2 separate regions of the Homo sapiens genome follow, and region 2 is linked to region 1. Evidence: promoter capture Hi-C in human tissues and cell types (Jung and others, 2019). All regions are on one chromosome and are shown on one strand. Each heading gives the region's core, a stretch centred on a gene start or on the middle of the fragment in contact. The rest is flanking DNA. Distances are from core to core; before and after follow the strand shown.

Region 1 (4,338 bases), core at 1,488-3,987:
AGACGGGGTTTTACCATGTTAGCCAGGATGGTCTCAATCTCCTGACCTTGTGATCCACCCGCCTCAGCCTCCCAAAGTGCTGGGATTATAGGCGTGAGCCACCCCGCCCAGCCCTTACCTATATTCTTTTGTAAAATATTGAAAATGCCTGAACAGAGCCAGGAAGGGCCTCTTTTCTCTTGATCTTCATTATAGATTAACTTTCCTCTTACCTTTCTCACACAAAGACTTCATGGCCATCACAGTGTCTTAAGCTGGAATGTCAAATTTGATAATGGCTCACTGCAGCATCAAACTCCTGGGGTCCAGTGATCCTCCTGCCTCAGTGTCCCTTGTATCAGGAACTACAGGTGGGTGCAACCACACCTGTCTAATTTTTCTATTTTTCTTTTCTAGACATGGGTCTTGTATTACCAAGGCTGGTCTCCAACTCCTGGTCTCAAGCAATCATCCTGCCTCAGCCTCACAAAGCTGGGATTACAGGTGTGGGACACTGCACTAGGTCAAGAGTTTAACTTTTAGCTCCGGAGTTCTAAGCCCATTTCCCTAGAGTCTGTATTTTCTTGAATGGCAATTCTCAGATTTTCACTTAAATAATCTCCTTATAATAGGAATCTGATCATTTCAATCATTTAAGGTAGAAAAATCCAAACAAGGCGACTACATCACTGTAACCAATAAAGTATTTTTTGATTTTTATTCTAATGCACCATATAAAAGCCTATCCTTCAACCTGTAAACTAAAAATAAAAACCTAAGCTCCCCATCCCACCCCAATCAAGTCAACTGAGTGGCTCTTTACCAAGGGGAGGCCCCCCAAAAACCTGAAAGTTCCCAGTTACATTAGTAAGGGAGATCAGACACTCCATACTCCCTTCTGGAGTTTAGACACAGCAACTGACCCACATTCATATTAAAATAGACATAAGACCTGCAAAGAGGCCGGGCACAGTGGCTCAGTCCTGTAATCCTAGCACTTTGGGAGGCGGAGGGAGGCGGAGGCAGGCGGATTATTTGAGGTCAGGAGTTTGAGACCAGCTTGGCCAACATGGTGAAACCCCATCTCTACTAAAAATACAGAAATTAGCCGGGTATGGTGGCGTGCACCTGTAATTCCAGCTACTTGGGAGGCTGAGGCAGGAGAATTGCTTGAACCTAGGAGGCGGAGGTTGCCGTAAGCCGAGATTGCGCCACTGCACTCCAGCCTGGGCGAGAGTGAGGCTCCATCTCAAAAAAAAAAAAAAACCTGCAAAGAAACCCTTTGTACCAATAAATACTAAATTGCAAACAAGACCTAAGGCCATGCAAGGCAAGGGTAAAGTCACGCCTTAGAATTCATAAAATCTAGTGAAACATATCTGTTTTTTGGTGGGGATGGAATCACGTGGCAGGTAACAGACTCCCTTCACTTAAACATTCCTTCCTACCCCTTTCAAATTTTAGACACAACTTCACACTCTCAGCCAACTGCCAACTACAGAATCCCTCAACCACCTGTGCCTTCTAAGCCCCGCTTCTACGTGTCCTGCCCTGTCAGCCTTCCATGCCTTGATTGATCTTTTCCCTGCAATTCCTGTCTCGCTGAAATGAATAAAACCAAACTGCCATCGAACCTCCTGGGGACCACTTACTCGAGGCTACATGCGGTTGTTTCCCTTGGTCACGTTCTCTCATATTCGGCGTAGAACATAGTTCAAGTTATTTTGCAGAGTTTTGCTCTTTCCGTTATCAAACTGCAAGCCATGACTGGGTGTTTCTCATTCAGGAAACATTTCTCATTCATTTTTTTCAAACTCCTATTCTGAGAAGCAAAACTCTTTAATTTTTAAGAGGACTCAGTTTAGTTTGTTGCTGTTGTTTTTGTTTTGTTTTGTTTGAGACAGGGTCTCGCTCAGTCGCCCAGGCTGGAGTGCAGTGGCGCGATCTCGGCTCACTGCAGTCCCAATCTCCTCCCTCAAGCGATCCTCCCACCTCAGCCCCCCAGTAGCTGGGATTACAGGTGGGCGGCACCACGCCCGGCTCATTTTTTAAAAATTTATTTTTAATAGAAACTAGGGTCTCGGTATGTTGCCTAGGCTGGTCTCGAATTTCTGGGCTGAAGCAATCCCCCCGCCTCAACCTGCCAGGCGTGACCCACTGCGCCTGGCCTTCAATTTAGTTTTTCAGGAAAAAAGGGGGGACTGGGGACCCCGCAGCCCACCGCTCCTCCCACACGAACCACACACCCGAGGCAGGATTGCCTCCATGACCCTCCCGTGGTCTCCGCACAATCTGGGGAGACGCGGGACTACGGGCGCGGAGCTCCCCAGAGAGGGCTCCGGGGCCGGGGCCAGGGCCGGGGTCGCAGTCGCAGCGCAGAGACGGGACAGGACGCCTGGGGTCCCGGCTGCCGGCCCAACCCCACCCTGCGGCCGAAGGGACCGAGGGCCGAGCTACGCCAGGGGGACTCCGCTCTGCAGACCCGAAGTCGCTGCAGGAAGGCCTGGGTCCTGCTAGAGCCGGTTCGAGCCGGTTCCTCCCGGCCCCTCCCCCGTCTCGGGACCCCCGGCCCCGCACACTCACCATTTCCCGGCTTCCAGGTGTCCTGGCCTCCTCTCCACGGATCCCTCTAACAGTCCAGTCACAGTGCGGGCGATGGAGCGACAGAAGCTATGGCGGAGGCACCTGGTCCCTCTCGGGGCCGGAAAACCGAGATCCCGACCTCCCTTTGGTGCAAGACGCCTGGGAGTCAGGAAAGCGGGAATGCGGCCTCCCCTTCCCCGGATGGACAGTTGGCAGGACCCCGCCCCAGCGCCCCTGATTGGATGAGGCTCCAGTCCCCGTCCCATCGGTCCTGAGTGACAGCGGAAGCCCTGGGTAACAAGGCCCGGCAGAACCGAAATGACCTGTTCCAACCACAGATTATCTAAGCGAGCTCCCTCCCTGCGTCTTGCTCTTTGGGTATTTGCATTTCAGCCAAATTTGCTCCGAATTGCTAGAGGGGGTACCGTTGTCTTCCTCACTCAATGGGCTGTCCCTGCTCCTTTGTCTTGCACAGGAAATTCCAGACTCAGAGTCCAGTGGAGGTGAAGGAAATTAAAATATTTTACGCCAAAATATATTTATTTGACAGATTTTGAAATGGCTGTGGCTCGGCCGCAAAAAAAAGTGGACTGGCAAAGCTGTCTTTGGAGGGGGGGAATTTGCATCTGCAGAGAATCTCCATTGATGAAACCATGCCCTCTCCCCCTTTATTTCTTTCCCTTTATCCAAGCTAGAAGAGATTGTGACCTGAACACAGGCAGGGTGCGGTGGTTCACGCCTGTAATCCTAGCACTTTGGGAGGCCAAGACTGGAGGATCCCTTAAAGTAAAGAGTTAAAGACCAACTTGGTCAACACAAGAATACCCCTGTTTTGTTGTTTTTTTTTTTTAATTTTTATTTATTAAACTTTAAGTTCTAGGGTACATGCGCACAATGTGCAGGTTTGTTACATATGTATACATGCGCCATGTTGGTGTGCTGTACCCATTAACTCGTCATTTACATTAGGTATATCTCCTAATGTTATCCCTCCCACATCCCCCCACCCTAGACCCCTGTTTTTATTATTTAAAAATCTTTACGGCCGGGAGCGGTGGCTCACGCCTATAATCCCAGCACTTTGGGAGGCCGACGCGGGCGGATCACGAGGTCAGGAAATCAAGACCATCCTGGCTAACACGGAGAAGCCCCGTCTCTACTAAAAATACAAAAAATTAGTCGGGTGCGGTGGCGGGCGCCTATAGTCCCAGCTACTCGGGAGGCTGAGGCAGGAGAATGGCGTGAACCCGGGAGGCGGAGCTTGCAGTGAGCCGAGATTGCGCCACTGCACTCCAGCCTGGGCGACAGGGCTAGACTGTCTCAAAAAAAAAAAAGAAAGAAAAAGAAAAAGAAAATCTGTGAAGGTCAGAATTAGAGCAAGACCCATTTGGGATGCCTCCTGGAGAAAGGGTTTATGAATTTTTATTTATTATTTTATTTTATTGTATTTATTATCATTTTTTTTGAGACGGAGTCTCGCTCTGTCGTCCGGGCTGGAGTGCAGTGGCGCAATCTCGGCTCACTGCAAGCTCCGCCTCCCGCCCGGGTTCATGCCATTCTCCTGCCTCAACCTCCCAAGTAGCTGGGACTACAGGCGCCTGCCACCACGCCCGGCTAATTTTTTGTATTTTTAGTAGAGACGGGGTTTCACCGTGTTAGCCAGGATTGTCTCGATCTCCTGACCTCGTGATCCGTCCGCCTCGGCTTCCCAAAGTGCTGGGATTACAGGCGTGAGCCACCGCGCCCTGCGGGTTTATGAATTTAACAGTAAATTTA
Region 2 (4,168 bases), core at 422-2,921, 34 kb after region 1:
CAAAATCCTATAAATGTAAGTACTTCAAAAAGCCTCATGCATAGCGGGTCATGTAGTCTCTAGAAAATACATAACCTGATGGAAATGTAGAAGCTATATGTATATTTTGTTAATTAGTGGCTCATATTTAAAATAGTTCTCTGACTATGGATTTCAAATGCTTAATCTCACAAAGAAATGTTAAATTGATATAATCCTGTAAGTAATCTGAAAGCAATAGTGCATGAATTTCATAGGTAGTGTTGTTTTAGGTCAGTAAATAAAATATTTGTCTTTCCATTTTGAAATGTGTTTAATCCAACAATGAATTTAAATGTGTTTCTCATATTCAGGTATGTTAAATTGTATATGGTTGCTTAATTGTTCTGTGATTGAGGACCACTGAAAAATAAGTCTTAATAAATGTTGGTATGAACCTACTTGCTTCATTTAGCAGGTTCTTGATTCCCTTTCCACATTATATACATTCCATCATATTTATTGGAACAGCTCCTTTTTTTTCCTTTTTTCTTTTTTCTTTCTTCTTTTTTCTTTTTGAGACAGGGTCTCGCTCTGTGCTCTGTTGCCCAAGCTGGAGTACAGTGGCATGATCTCGGCTCATTGCAACCTCTGCCTTCTGGGTTCAAGTGATTCTCCCACCTTAGCCTCCTAGGAAGCTGGGACTACAGGCATGTGCCACCACACCTGGCTAATTTTTTGTATTTCTAGTAGAGATGGGGTTTCACCATGTTGGCCAGGCTGGTAGAACTCCTGACCTCAAGTGATCCACCCACCTCAGCCTCCTAAAGTCTGGGATTACACGTGTGAGCCATCACACCTAGCCCATTTTTTTTTTCTTGGCTCAAATAATTTTATTTTGCTTCCTATTAAAGAGTTGTTGTTAATTCTAAGTATGTAAAGTTTATCACAGACTGTAGTCTCGTGAATTATTATTTTAACCTGTTGTTCTTTACTCCTTGTTATTTATTCTGGCTGCTCTTTGTATAATTGATTTTGGGATAAGGAGACAGCTATGATAGAATAATAAAATCTAAAATGGGAGATGCCTTTCATGGATTGTGTCATGTCAATCTGGGTAATGGGAACTAAACTTTTCAGACTTCATTTCTTTCTTTCTTTCTGAAATAGGGTCTCACTCTGTCACTCAGGCTGGAGTGCAGTGGCACGACTGTGGCTCACTGTAACCTCAAACTCTGGAGCTCAGGTGGCCTTCCGACCTCAGCCTCCCAAATGGCTGGAACTATAGGTATGTGCCACCAAGCCCAGCTAATCTTTTTATTTTTGGTTTTTCATCTTTTTTTTTTTTTGTAGAGATGGTGTCTTGCTATGTTGCCCAGACTGGTCTCAAACTCCTGGCCTCAAGTCACCCTCTAGCCTCAGCCTCTTAAAGCACTAGGATTACAGGCATAAGCCACTGTGCCTGGCCCAGAATTTCTTTCTTTCATGGTTACCTGTAGACTGCATCAATAGCCTAAATTCCTGGAAGTTTAGAATGCAGAAGTGAAGAACGCATTAGTCAGATTTTGGAGGCATCATACGGAGAGACAGATGCATATGGGCTGTTTGGACATGGTCATCTAGCCCATTTTCCTGATTCTTTGCCCTGCCAATCAAGAGTATCCTCAGCCGGGTGTGCTGGCTCACACCTGTAATTCTAGCACTTTGGGAGGCCAAGGCGGTCGGATCACCTGAGGTGAGGAGTTCGAGACCAGCGTGGTCAACATGGTGAAACCCCATCTCTACTAAAAATACAAAAATTAGCTGGGTGTGGTGTCGCGTGCTTATAGTCCCAGCTGAGGCAGGAGAATCGCTTGAGCCAGGGAGGTGAAGGTTGCAGTGAGCCAAGATCATGCCACTGCACTCCAGCCTGGGTGACAGAGTACAGAGTAAGACCCTGTCTCAAAAAAAAAAAAAAAAAAAAAAAAAAGAGTATCCTCTAATCCACCACTAGCTACTTCACCTCCATGTTCTCAAAGTTATGGATTTCCATAGATGTTTTTAAAAGCTTCATATCAAAGATTCAGCTGCCATTTGGATATTCCTGAAGGCCCTAATATATCTGCCAAGTAATCAGTTCATATTGTCATTGTTGGGAATAGTCTGATGATCTGACTTGGTTCCTGTACGGTCCAGTTTGTACATAAACATTTTTGTCCATAGGGACAGTGAGTGTTACTGATGCAGGTTGAGAGCTACAATGGCACTATCCAAAAACAAAACGAAAAACCCTACATGGAGCTTGTTCCTCTGCTGCATTATGCAGAGATGGGTCTCACCCCGTTCTTTCATGTGAGAATAAGCACCTTATTCATTATAGAAACATTGTGGGTGTTTCCTGTTACTCATAGCTGAATGCAGTCCCTCAGTTTATTTTGAATTATGTTTGAGTACATATGATTACAAACAATATACATGTCCTCCTCAAACAAAAGTTCTCTACACATTTCTTAGAAATATTAACAGTATGCAAGCAACTTGCATACTGTCTGGTGAGTTTTGTATTTATTGAGAATATATATTAAAATATCCCATTCCAATCATGGATCCGATAAACTTTATAATTAAGCTATTTGTCCAACATTGTGAGTCAATATTACTGTGAGCTTACAACTTCAGGCCTTTTTTTCCTCATAAATTTTAGTTTTCATGCTTATTTGATTACAACTTTTATGATGATAGTAGTTTTTCATATGCATAATACCAAAAGTCAAATCATGTTGTGAGTGATTTCTTTCCAAGGACTATCAGGGACGTCCCTGTTGTCAAGCAGGGTGTAATAAATTGTGGTAATAAATACTACCACAGGCCGGGCGCGGTGGCTCACCCTGTAATCCCAGCATTTTGGGAGGCCAATGCGGGCAGATCACTTGAGGCCAGGAATTGGAGACCAGCCTGGACAACATAGCAACACCCTGTCTCTACTAAAAATACAAAAATTAGCCTGGTGTGGTGGTGCACATCTGTAATCCCAGCTACTTGGGAGTGGAGGTTGCAGTGAGCCAAGCACGCCACTGCACTCCAGCCTGGGCAACAGAGTGAGACTCTCTCAAAAAATAAAAAAATAATAAATACCACCACAAACCAGTAATGACTGTAAGGTGTATCAATAAGAGGGTATTTAAAAGAATTTATTGCAGAACTTATGCTGCTTTTTGGTTGCTTGATTCCTATTTAAGGAAGCAAAAAATTTCTCTGTATTTGATATAGTGAAGAGGTGAACTTAATTCTACCCTTGGTAATTCTTTTTATTTTTGAGACGGAGTCTTGCTCTGTCACCCAGGCTGGAGTGCAGTGGCGCAATCTCAGCTCACTGCAAGCTCCGCCTCCCGGGTTCACGCCATTCTCCTGCCTCAGCCTCCCGAGTAGCAGGGACTACAGGCACCCACCACTACGCCCGGCTAATTTTTTGTATTTTTAGTAGACGGGGTTTCACCGTGTTAGCCAGGATGGTCTCGATCTCCTGACCTCGTGATCCACTGGCCTCGGCCTCCCAAAGTGCTGGGATTACAGGCATGAGCAACCGCGCCCGGCCCTAGTAATTCTTTTTTTTTTTTCTTTTGTGAGACAGAGTCTTGCTCTGTTGCCCAGGCTGGAGTTCAGTGATGCGATCTTGGCTCACTGCAACCTCCACTTCTCTGGTATAAGTGATTCTCCTGCCGCAGCCTCCAGCGACAGTGCCAGACTTCGTCTCAAAAAAAACCCAGAAAACAAAAAGACAAAAACCTTTCAGAATACTTCCTGAATGATCTGCCAGAGCCTGTTTTACAGCTTTTTTTCTGGAGGCGGAGGGGACATGGTCTTGCTCTGGAGTAGCTTGGATTACAGGTATGTGCCACGACACCTGGCTAATTTTTGTATTTTGAGTCGAGACGGGTTTTGCCATGTTGGCCACGCTGGTCTCAAACTCCTAGGCTGAAGTGATCGGCCCACCTCGGCCTTCCAAAGTGCTGGGATTACAGGTGTGAGCCACAGCACCCAGCTGAATATACATTTTTCTAAGGAAGATAAACAACTGAGCAAGGGGACCTGAAAAGATGCTGGACATCATTAAGTAAATGCTAAACAAAAAGGCAAGGAAATACCACTTCAAACCCACTAGGATGGGTAGAATGAAAAAGTGAGATAATAACACATGTCAAGGATATGGAGAACTTGGAACCCTCATACA

Evidence for each region. Contacts are between HindIII fragments. The study calls those that stand out against the background at their distance.
Region 2: a fragment that was not itself captured here is called in contact with the fragment with the promoter of ZNF625-ZNF20 in region 1 in 7 of the 25 tissues and cell types used here (H1 embryonic stem cells, bladder, dorsolateral prefrontal cortex and 4 more).

Annotation. Positions count from the first base shown.
Region 1 is chr19:12,153,994-12,158,331 of GRCh38, forward strand. It overlaps ZNF625-ZNF20 (ZNF625-ZNF20 readthrough (NMD candidate)), which reads right to left and starts at 2,738. Exons shown (of 8, transcript NR_037802.1): 1 at 2,563-2,738. ZNF625 (zinc finger protein 625) reads right to left here and starts at 2,741. Exons shown (of 4, transcript NM_145233.4): 1 at 2,563-2,741. The coding sequence starts at 2,565. RefSeq lists a silencer at 2,258-2,427 and enhancers at 2,404-3,095, 2,658-2,767. The HindIII fragment of the contact is 11,402 bases long and covers 1-4,338 here.
Region 2 is chr19:12,188,831-12,192,998 of GRCh38, forward strand. ZNF136 (zinc finger protein 136) reads left to right here. Exons shown (of 4, transcript NM_003437.5): 4 at 1-1,041. Among named protein-coding and RNA genes, the nearest start is that of ZNF136, 28 kb to the left of the region's middle. The HindIII fragment of the contact is 7,748 bases long and covers 1-4,168 here.